Regions from separate parts of the Homo sapiens genome. Here region 1 is linked to region 2. The links are contacts of gene promoters, found by promoter capture Hi-C in human tissues and cell types (Jung and others, 2019). All regions are on one chromosome and are shown on one strand. Each heading gives the region's core, a stretch centred on a gene start or on the middle of the fragment in contact. The rest is flanking DNA. Distances are from core to core; before and after follow the strand shown.

Region 1 (4,214 bases), core at 1,455-3,954, 850 kb before region 2:
ATGTTTAAGATGTCAAGGAAACAGAGTTATGGAAGAGGCATTACCATTTTCCATTTTATAAACAAGAGTCAGCGAAGACCTTTAGAAAACAAGTGGCATTTGATCTAAGAAGGAAATAAGAGAGTAGGGCACAGAGAAGACCAGATGAAGAGCTTTGCAGGCAAGAGTGTACCTCGTGTACTGGAGGTATTGCAGGGAGGCTCAGGAGGCTCAGAAGGCTCAGAGTGGAGTGACCCAGGAGGAGGGTGGCCAGATGAGAGCGGAGATGTATCTCTGGAGGGGATTGAGGTTGGGATCACAAAAGGGCTGGTTGGTTATGATAAACACTTTGAATTTTATTCTGAGGTAGATGGAAAGCCATTAGGTGGCTTTGAGCAAAGGAATGGAATGACCTATTTTATGTTCTAAAAGCATAATTCTGGTTGCGAGGTGGAAAACAGAGTGTAGTGGGACATAGAAATGGCAAGATTCAGTGAGGTACAAAGAAGGCATGGACTTATACAACCTAGTCTCATGGTGTAGTTGCAAATAAGATTCAGTGGGATGATTTATAGTTCTGGCCTTCTTACTGTCCTGCAGAGAGACTGGCTTAAGTGGAATACAGTTGAAAGCATCATGACAAAGTCTCCAATAGTAGGACCCAGGCCCTGCATTGCTCTACATTTTTATAGAATAAGGGAGTCCAGCTAACCATAGTCAGCTAAGTAGCAAGAAGAGTTTATTGGACGGTGAAATAGCCTGCAAGAAAGGCTGACCCTCTAGAGCTCTGTCTCTGGAAGCATCTTTTTTTTTTTTTCCTAGGAATTTTTTCTTTTTTTAAATTTTACTTTAAGTTCTGGGTGGTTTGCTGCACCTATCAACCCGTTATCTAGGTTTTAAGCCCAGCATGCATTAGGTATTTGTCCTAATGCTCTCCCTCCCCTTCTCCCAACACCCCCGACAGACAGGCCCCGGTGTGTAATGTTCCCCTCCCTGTGTCCATGTGTTCTCATTGTTCAGCTCCCACTTATGAGTGAGAACATCCTGTGTTTGGTTTTCTATTCCTGTGTTAGCATCTTGTTTTCTCATTGAGTTAACTCAGACTTGCTACTGAAAAAAAACAAAATGAGACTCCAGAGCCTTCTACTTACTTGTATCTCTCCTCAATCAATTAGGAGACTATTTACTAGTCCAGGCAGAACAGCATAAAATGTGAGAACCTGATGAAGGTGGAGAGACTGATGGGAGTGATTTGAAAAGGAAGGCTGGGGTCAGATTGCAGAGGGCTCACTTGTCATGATGAGCTGTTTGAGCTATATTATTCAGAAACATCGCTAGACTAGGCTGGACACAACAACCACCCACAGCATCCTGGGGCATCAGAGCAGCAGTCAGCCAAGCTGCTGACAGCTCAGTATGCTGAATACACAAAAAGATGCACAAATTGTGTATTGCTATGCAAATGCAAGCAATGATGAGAAGTGTGACCATTTTTGAATTTTCTCTAGATCACTCTAAGTCCTCAAATTTAATGTTTCCTATGTCTTAGCAGCATACTTAGTTTAAAGATATCTTGAAAAGATAATACAGTTTTAATCAGAAAGGCTGCAGAGGGCAATGGATAGAGAAATGATCTGAAAACAGTTTGTAGACCACCAGTCCCACCCCTGGGTGAGTGCATGTGTGAAGTCAGAGTCACAGGTGTGAGTAAACACACACCACAGGATGCCCAAGTTGAACTCATGGCCTAGAACAGAGAGTTTTTGCTGGTGAGTGGTGGGGGTAAGCTGAAAAGCTTTTAGGGAGAAACAGACGCAGGGTTCTGTGAATGTTGGAGTATTGGGGACCAATGACAGCATCATAAGATAGACATCAGCAGCCCCCACTATGGCTGTTCAAAGATTTCGAGAAAATTTTGAAACCGTGCCCCCTAGGAGTTAAGGAACCGATGACTAAGTTGTTTGGTTTACAAGGTAGCAGATAAGAAAAGAAACAATTTTCTGGACGCTGAAACTCAAACTATGCTCCCAAAGACTAAGAAACCAGTAACTCACCGAAATTCTTGAGTTGACAAGATAGCAGAGAAGAAAAGAAACAACCTGCTAAGATGCTGAAACTACATTAAAACTTAATGGCTTAAAACAACCATTTACTTAGTTCACAATTTTGTGGATCAAGAATTTGGAGGGGATTGGCTGAATGGTTCATATCTTTTCTACTTGTGAGATCAAGAAAAAACTGGCTGAAATCAGTTGAAGACTAAGATGGCTGACTGGAGTTTGCATAGAACAAACTTGATTGTGCACGTGACCCATGGATTTGCATGAAGTGGTAAGTGCTCATGCCCAAGGACTTGGCCACATCCTCCCTTTCTTCCACCAATCACGTGCTAATCCAAATATCCATCCTCTAATCCATCCTCTAATTCTTGTCTTTTTTTCTTTTCTTTTTTTTTTTTTTTTTTTTTGAGATGGAGTATCACTCTGTCACCCAGGCTGGAGTGCATTGGCGCAGTCTTGGTTCACTGCAACCTCCACCTTCTGGGTTCAAGCGATTCTTCTGCCTCAGCCTCCTGAGTAGCTGGGACTGCAGGCATGTACCACCATGCCCAGCTAATTTTTGTATTTTTAGTAGAGAAGGAGTTTCACCATATTGGTCAGGCTGGTCTTGAACTCCTGACCTCATGATCCGCCTGCCCCAACCTCCTGAAGCGCTAGGATTACAGGCGTGAGCCACCGTGCCTGGCTCCTCTAATTCTTTTCTAATAAAATTTTTGCCTTAAAAACAGCATGGGGAGACAGATTAGAGCTTGACACTCGTGTCTCCTTATGAGTTGACTTGCAACATAGAACTTTCTTTTCAAAAAAAAAAAAAATGAAAACAACAACAAAACAAAACAACCCAAAACCCAAAGTCATAGTACTGGCTTCCAGCACATTGGGCATTAGCTCTATAACAATTTATTGAATTAAGTTAATTAAGTTCATTCCAAAAGTTCTGTGATTTCTTAAGGACATCTCATTCTCATGGCTGCCTCTGTTGACACTCCTGCTTCCTCCCCTAAGTTTTTGTCCTGCAATATACCAAGTCCAGATAGGAAACTTGGCCCCTTATCAATTTTACACACAGCTCACATATACACACTCCAAGGTACTTGGGAATCAGCAAGAATTTACTGTGGCCCTGAGATCTCAGAGAAGAGTAATTTTTGCATTACACAGCAAAACGAACTTAAAAATCAATTCTGGTTTACAATTGCTGAGTAAAAACTACACTAAAACTTAATGGTTTATACAACCATTTACTTAGTTCGCAATTTTGTGGATCAAGAATTTGAAAGAGATTGGCTGAATCATTCATATCTGTTCCACATGGCATCCTTGGCGGGTCTGTAAAAAGACAATTGGTTAACAATAAATGTATGAATCTATTTCTTTACATTCTTTTCAGTTGACCTATATGCCTACCTTATTGTCAATAACACTGTCTTAATTATTATAAGTGATAAACCAGGTAATGAAAGCTATCAACTTTGTTATTTTTAAAAATCGTTTTGTCTCTTTTAGGTATCCCCATTTAAAAAAAAAATAGAATCAGTTTGTCAACTTCTACAAAGAAATCCTGCTGGGATTTTTATTGGAGTTGCATTGACTGTATAGATCAGGAGTGTCCAATCTTTTGGCTTCCCTGGACCACATTGGGAGAAGACTTGTCTTGGGCCACATGTAAAATATGCTAGCACTAACAATAGCGGATGAGCTAAAAAAAATTGCAAAAAATCTCATAATATTTTAAGAAAGTTTATGAGTTTGTGTTGGGCCACATTCAAAACTCTCCTGGGTCACATGTGGCCTGCGGACCACAGGTTGTACAAGCTTGGTATAGATCAATTTGGAGAGAATTGACACATTAACATTACCTAAGCTTCTGGCCTATAAACACGTTATATATTTTTATTTAGGTAGTTATTTAACTTCTCTCAGCAATATTTTGCAGATTTAAGGGTATCGATCTTGCATACATTTGATAGATTATCCCTAACTATATCAGTTTTCTTTCGAGGCTGTTGAAATGGTATTTTCATTACTATTGCTAACGTTTGTTGTTAATATATAGGAATACAACTGATTTTTTTGTATTATGACTGCTAAGGGGGCCTTACTAAACTCACTATTACTTCCAATAGCTCTTTCATAAATTCCTTAGGATGTCGTCAATAGACGATCAACTGGTCT
Region 2 (4,630 bases), core at 1,116-3,615:
AACATTTCAGTTGATGAGGTAAAATAAAATGCACAAAAAATGCTTCTGATGAAGATTAATGCAAAATCAAAGTGATTCTCTCTTTCTCTGCAATGTAACAAATAATAGTACAATGGCAGGAAGATAAAGTCCCAGAATTGTCATATAATTTTGCTATTGGTGGTTACATAGAATATGTATGTATCTGATCAATAACTTGTATAATTCCAAAATATAATATCCTATATAAATCAAGAAAATTATATGTGATAGTATAATTAGTCTGAGATTTTACTTTTGGTCTCAAACACTTTCTGGTAGAAGATGCTCATTTCGAAATGTGTATCTTCCCTATTTTCCTAATATATCACTTTAATAGCCTTAGAAAGTGATTTTTGCCCTATACTAGTTCCGTTTGACCAAAAAAAATTTTTAAAAAAGGTTTTGCCTTATTCCAGTCCTGTTTAAAGTGAACTTTAAAGTAGATATGTACTAAGACAAAGCTATCTTTGCCACATCATTTCTTTCTCTTTAAAATAAGATCTTATGTTCAAAACATCAGTAATTTCTGAATGAAACTCTAAAAAGGCAAACATTTTTAAAACTGAAGTTTCTAGGTATTCCTGATACAACTGAATTAAAATCAATTAATAACTTACATGATAGCATTGATGTCACAGCCTTCATTGGCCAGCTGCCGTGTGAAGCCCACAATAAATTTAGGATGAAGAATACGGTCTGTGTATCCAAGACAGCAGTCAAAGTTGCTTGCTGCTAAAAAAAAAAAAAAGTGAAAGGTATTGGATCCACATGAATAAACTTATCCTGTGATTGGTATTATAAAACTACCTTAAGTTGTGAAAAATCTAGTGAATCTCATGTATATGACGAATAAACCACTTAGAGGAGGAGTTTCAATGTCTTGGAAACCTTTGTAAGGTCGTTGAGAACCAATCTAACATAGTTTACAGTTCTTTGAAAAAACAGTTTGTGTGCCGAGAAGTTTTGGTTCAATAATAGAATTGAGAAACACAGGACTTCTCATAAGTGGGATATCTTCAGTAAGAAATACAAATTGACAATATTTCATTTCAGTTCACTATAATCATTCAAGAATATGAGCAGCCCCTTCCCTACTGCTTGAAGGAACCCTTATGTAGATAAACTTCCAAAAGCAGAAAATGAATAAATTGGCAGATTTTAATCTATTATCTGGCTACTAAGTATTGAGAAATAGAGCTACAAAGGGAAATATGATTTATAGGAGTGAAAACACTTTGAAATTGTCCTATTAATTAATAGGAATGTTTAATTTTGTTCATAAAAGTTCAACATGTGGTTGGGCATGGTGGCTCATGCCTGTAATCCCAGCACTTTGGGAGGCCAAGGAGGAAGGATTGCTTGCCTCCAGGAGTTCGAGACCAGCCTGGGCAACACAGTGAAACCCTGTCTCTACAAAAAAAAAAAAAATGTAAAAAAATTAGCCAGGTGAGTGGCACACGGCCGTGGTCCCTGTTATTCAAGAGGCTGAGACTGGAGGTTCACTTGACTCCAGGAGGTTGAGGCTGTAGTGAGCTGTAATCATGCCACTGCACTCTGGCCTGGGTGATGAAGTTAGACCCTGCCTCAGAAAAAAAAAAAAATTCAATGTGCATTTTTAGGAATGCACCTGTTGCTAAAAGTGTTGTGTGACTATTGAGCAATAAAGCAATACTTGGACATTCCCGAGTCAGATTACAACATGCTGTAAGGTAAGGGATTAATGTTATTTTAAAGTTGGCAAGCAATGTCCCCCATGCCTTGTGGGGATGTTGATGTCAGGTATTATAATCTACTTCTAAAGGATGAGTTTTGAACTTTACCAAAACTATTAAGTTGGGAGGTACGAAAGTTGGGGACACAGGAGGATTCTCTACATTTCAAAATGGCCCCATCTACTGGTAACATTACACACTTTATATCACTCCCAGAAACATCACTTTGGCTTTATCCTGAAGTTTAGGGATCTCTAAGAGCCCACCACTCCCCAAATCTGCTGAGATTGACAGCAGAGAGGAAAGCCTGATCCGCAGCAGTAACTCTTCTCTCCTCCACTCCACCATGGGCAGACAACTTCCATCACTACCTCTTGTATACTTCCTAACAGTTTTCCATCCCTTAGGGACCCCCAGTTGAGCTCAAGGCTAAAAGGAAAATGAAAATAGTCTTTCTTCTGTGCTAGCGGAAAGAGCGACACTTACCTTCTGATTCGCCGCAGAGGTGGAGTAGCAGCACTGACATCAAAGCAGCCAGGAGCAAACTCTTGGTACAGCACATGGTTTTTAGCTCAAAGAACAGATCTGCTCAGTGTTGAGTACCCAGTTCTTTGGGAGTGCTGTTATATTCTGACAGCAGCCTGGGATGGCCCTATTTATAGCAAATATTGGGAATGTACACAGAAGGCGTGTTGCCACATGGGGTTTTCCCCATTGATCAACTGGCCCCATCATGTCATCATAAAAAAAACCCGCAAGGAAAACTTCCTGCTTTTTCCTCATATTGGGAAGGTGCGAAGGTCAGGGTGGGGGACAGGAAGTTGAGAAGGGGAGAATCCTGTTAAATTCTTTGTATTTGCAAAGAGCAAAAGCAGCTCAGCCCTGTGACCCAGAAAAGACTTTCATCCAGTTTTAACTTAATCATTTTTGTGTCTGAAAATAGAGGATTAACAGCGATACAAAGGTCAGCCCCACACAGGAACATTCCAGAACTCCTATTGTTACACCCTATTTGCTTTCCAGAACCAGTCAAGGAGGAGGGGGAGGAGGAGCAGGTGGGATGCCAGGCATACTCTGCTACACATTTACCATCACATGGTTGAGGTTCAGCTGTCATGAAGAAGACCCTGAGTTGCTAGACTAACATTCAGAGCAGGTACTATAACAGTGCTACAGTACTGTCCGCAGTTAGAGTGGAAAATATCAGCCTTTAAGTAAGGCTCAAACCTCAGCTTCACCTTGATTTAATGTCAACTCTTCTAAGAATCTTATACATTCACATGGCTTTAATCAATATTGCAGTTCAGAAAATAATCCTTACCTACCTTTAACTCTCCATGATGATGTACTAATATAACTCAATATAGAGCCTCAGAATTGTTGAGGAAAGAAAACCTATCAGCAGTAGCTAGTCAGCACAGCAAATGTCAAATAACAGTACTAATGATGATAATGTAATATGAATCCCTAACCTAAGGCAGTATAAGAACTCTCCACTAGACCCAAATAGGTTGAAAGTAAAAGGATCAAAAGAAAGGTATACCAAACAGTAAACAAAAGAGAACTGGAGTTGGTGATGCCTATATCAGACAAAATAGATTTTTTTTTAATGTTACCGGAAATAAAAAGGGACTTTCATGGTAACACAAAATTAACCCATTGGGAAGATGTAAAACCTATAACCATATATATACCTAACAGTAGCACCCCAAACTACAGAAAGCAAAAACTGACAGAATTGAAGGGAAGAATAGGAAATTTTATTTTATTTTATTATTATAATTTCTTTTGAGACAGAATTTTGCTCTTGTTGCCCAGGCTGGAGTGCAGTGGCACCATCTCGGCTCACTACAACCTCCGCCTCCTGGGTTCAAGCGATTCGCCTGCCTCAGCCTCCTGAGTAGCTGGGACTACAGGCACGTGCCACCACGCCCAGCGAATTTTTGTATTTTTAGTAGAGACGTGGTTTCACCATGTTGCCCAGGCTGAACTCCTGACCTCATTACAGGCATGAGCCACCGTGCCCAGCAGAATAGGAAATTTAACAATAAAAGTTGACAGCTTTGGTACCACATTTTCACTAATTAATAAAATTTAGGCAGAAGATCCACAAGAAAATAGAAGACTTGAACAACACTATAAGCCAAATAGACTTAGCAGGCATCGAAGGACTACTCTATCCAACATCAACAGAATAGTTGCACATGGAATGTTCTCTAGGATAAAGCATATGGTAGGTTATGGAACAAGTCTCAGTAAATGTAAACCGACTGAAATCACATAAAGTATACATTCAAACCACAATGGAATTAAATCAGAAATCAGTAACAGACAGAAAGGAAACCACATATTCCTAAATAACCAATGTGTCTGGCCAGGAGTGGTGGCTCATGCCTGTAATCCTAGCATTTTGGGAGGCCGAGGTGGGTGGACTGCCTGAGGTCAGGAGTTCGAGACCAGACTGGCCAACATAGTGAAACCCTGTCTCTACTAAAAATACAAATATTAGCCGGGTGTGGTAGTCCATGCCTGTAATCCCAGCTACTTGGGAGGCTGAGGCAGGAGAATCGCATGAGCCCAGGAAGCAGAAGTTACGGCGAGCCGAGATCACGCTACTGCCCTCTAACCTGGCCAACAGAGACTCCATCTCAAAGGAAAAAACAACAACAACAACAACAATGTGTCAAAAGAAAAGTCACTAGAGAAAGTAGAAAACAACTTTGAAATGTAAAAAAAAGTCCACAACATATCAAAACTTATAGGATGTAGCAAAAGCAGTCCTCAGAAGGAAACTTATAGCTGTAAACACTCACATTAAAAAAAAAAAAAAAGAAACATCTCAAAACAATAACCCAAACTTCTACCTTAAGAAACTAGAGAAAAGCAGAGCAAGCTAA

The links. Contacts are between HindIII fragments. The study calls those that stand out against the background at their distance.
Region 1: a fragment that was not itself captured here is called in contact with the fragment with the promoter of CCL20 in region 2 in 1 of the 25 tissues and cell types used here (stomach).

What each region holds. Positions count from the first base shown.
Region 1 is chr2:228,662,549-228,666,762 of GRCh38, reverse strand. No RefSeq gene overlaps it. Among named protein-coding and RNA genes, the nearest start is that of LINC01807, 53 kb to the right of the region's middle. The HindIII fragment of the contact is 4,026 bases long and covers 692-4,214 here.
Region 2 is chr2:227,811,577-227,816,206 of GRCh38, reverse strand. CCL20 (C-C motif chemokine ligand 20) reads right to left here and starts at 2,365. Exons shown (of 4, transcript NM_004591.3): 1 at 2,220-2,365; 2 at 639-753. The coding sequence starts at 2,295. The HindIII fragment of the contact is 20,627 bases long and covers 1-4,630 here.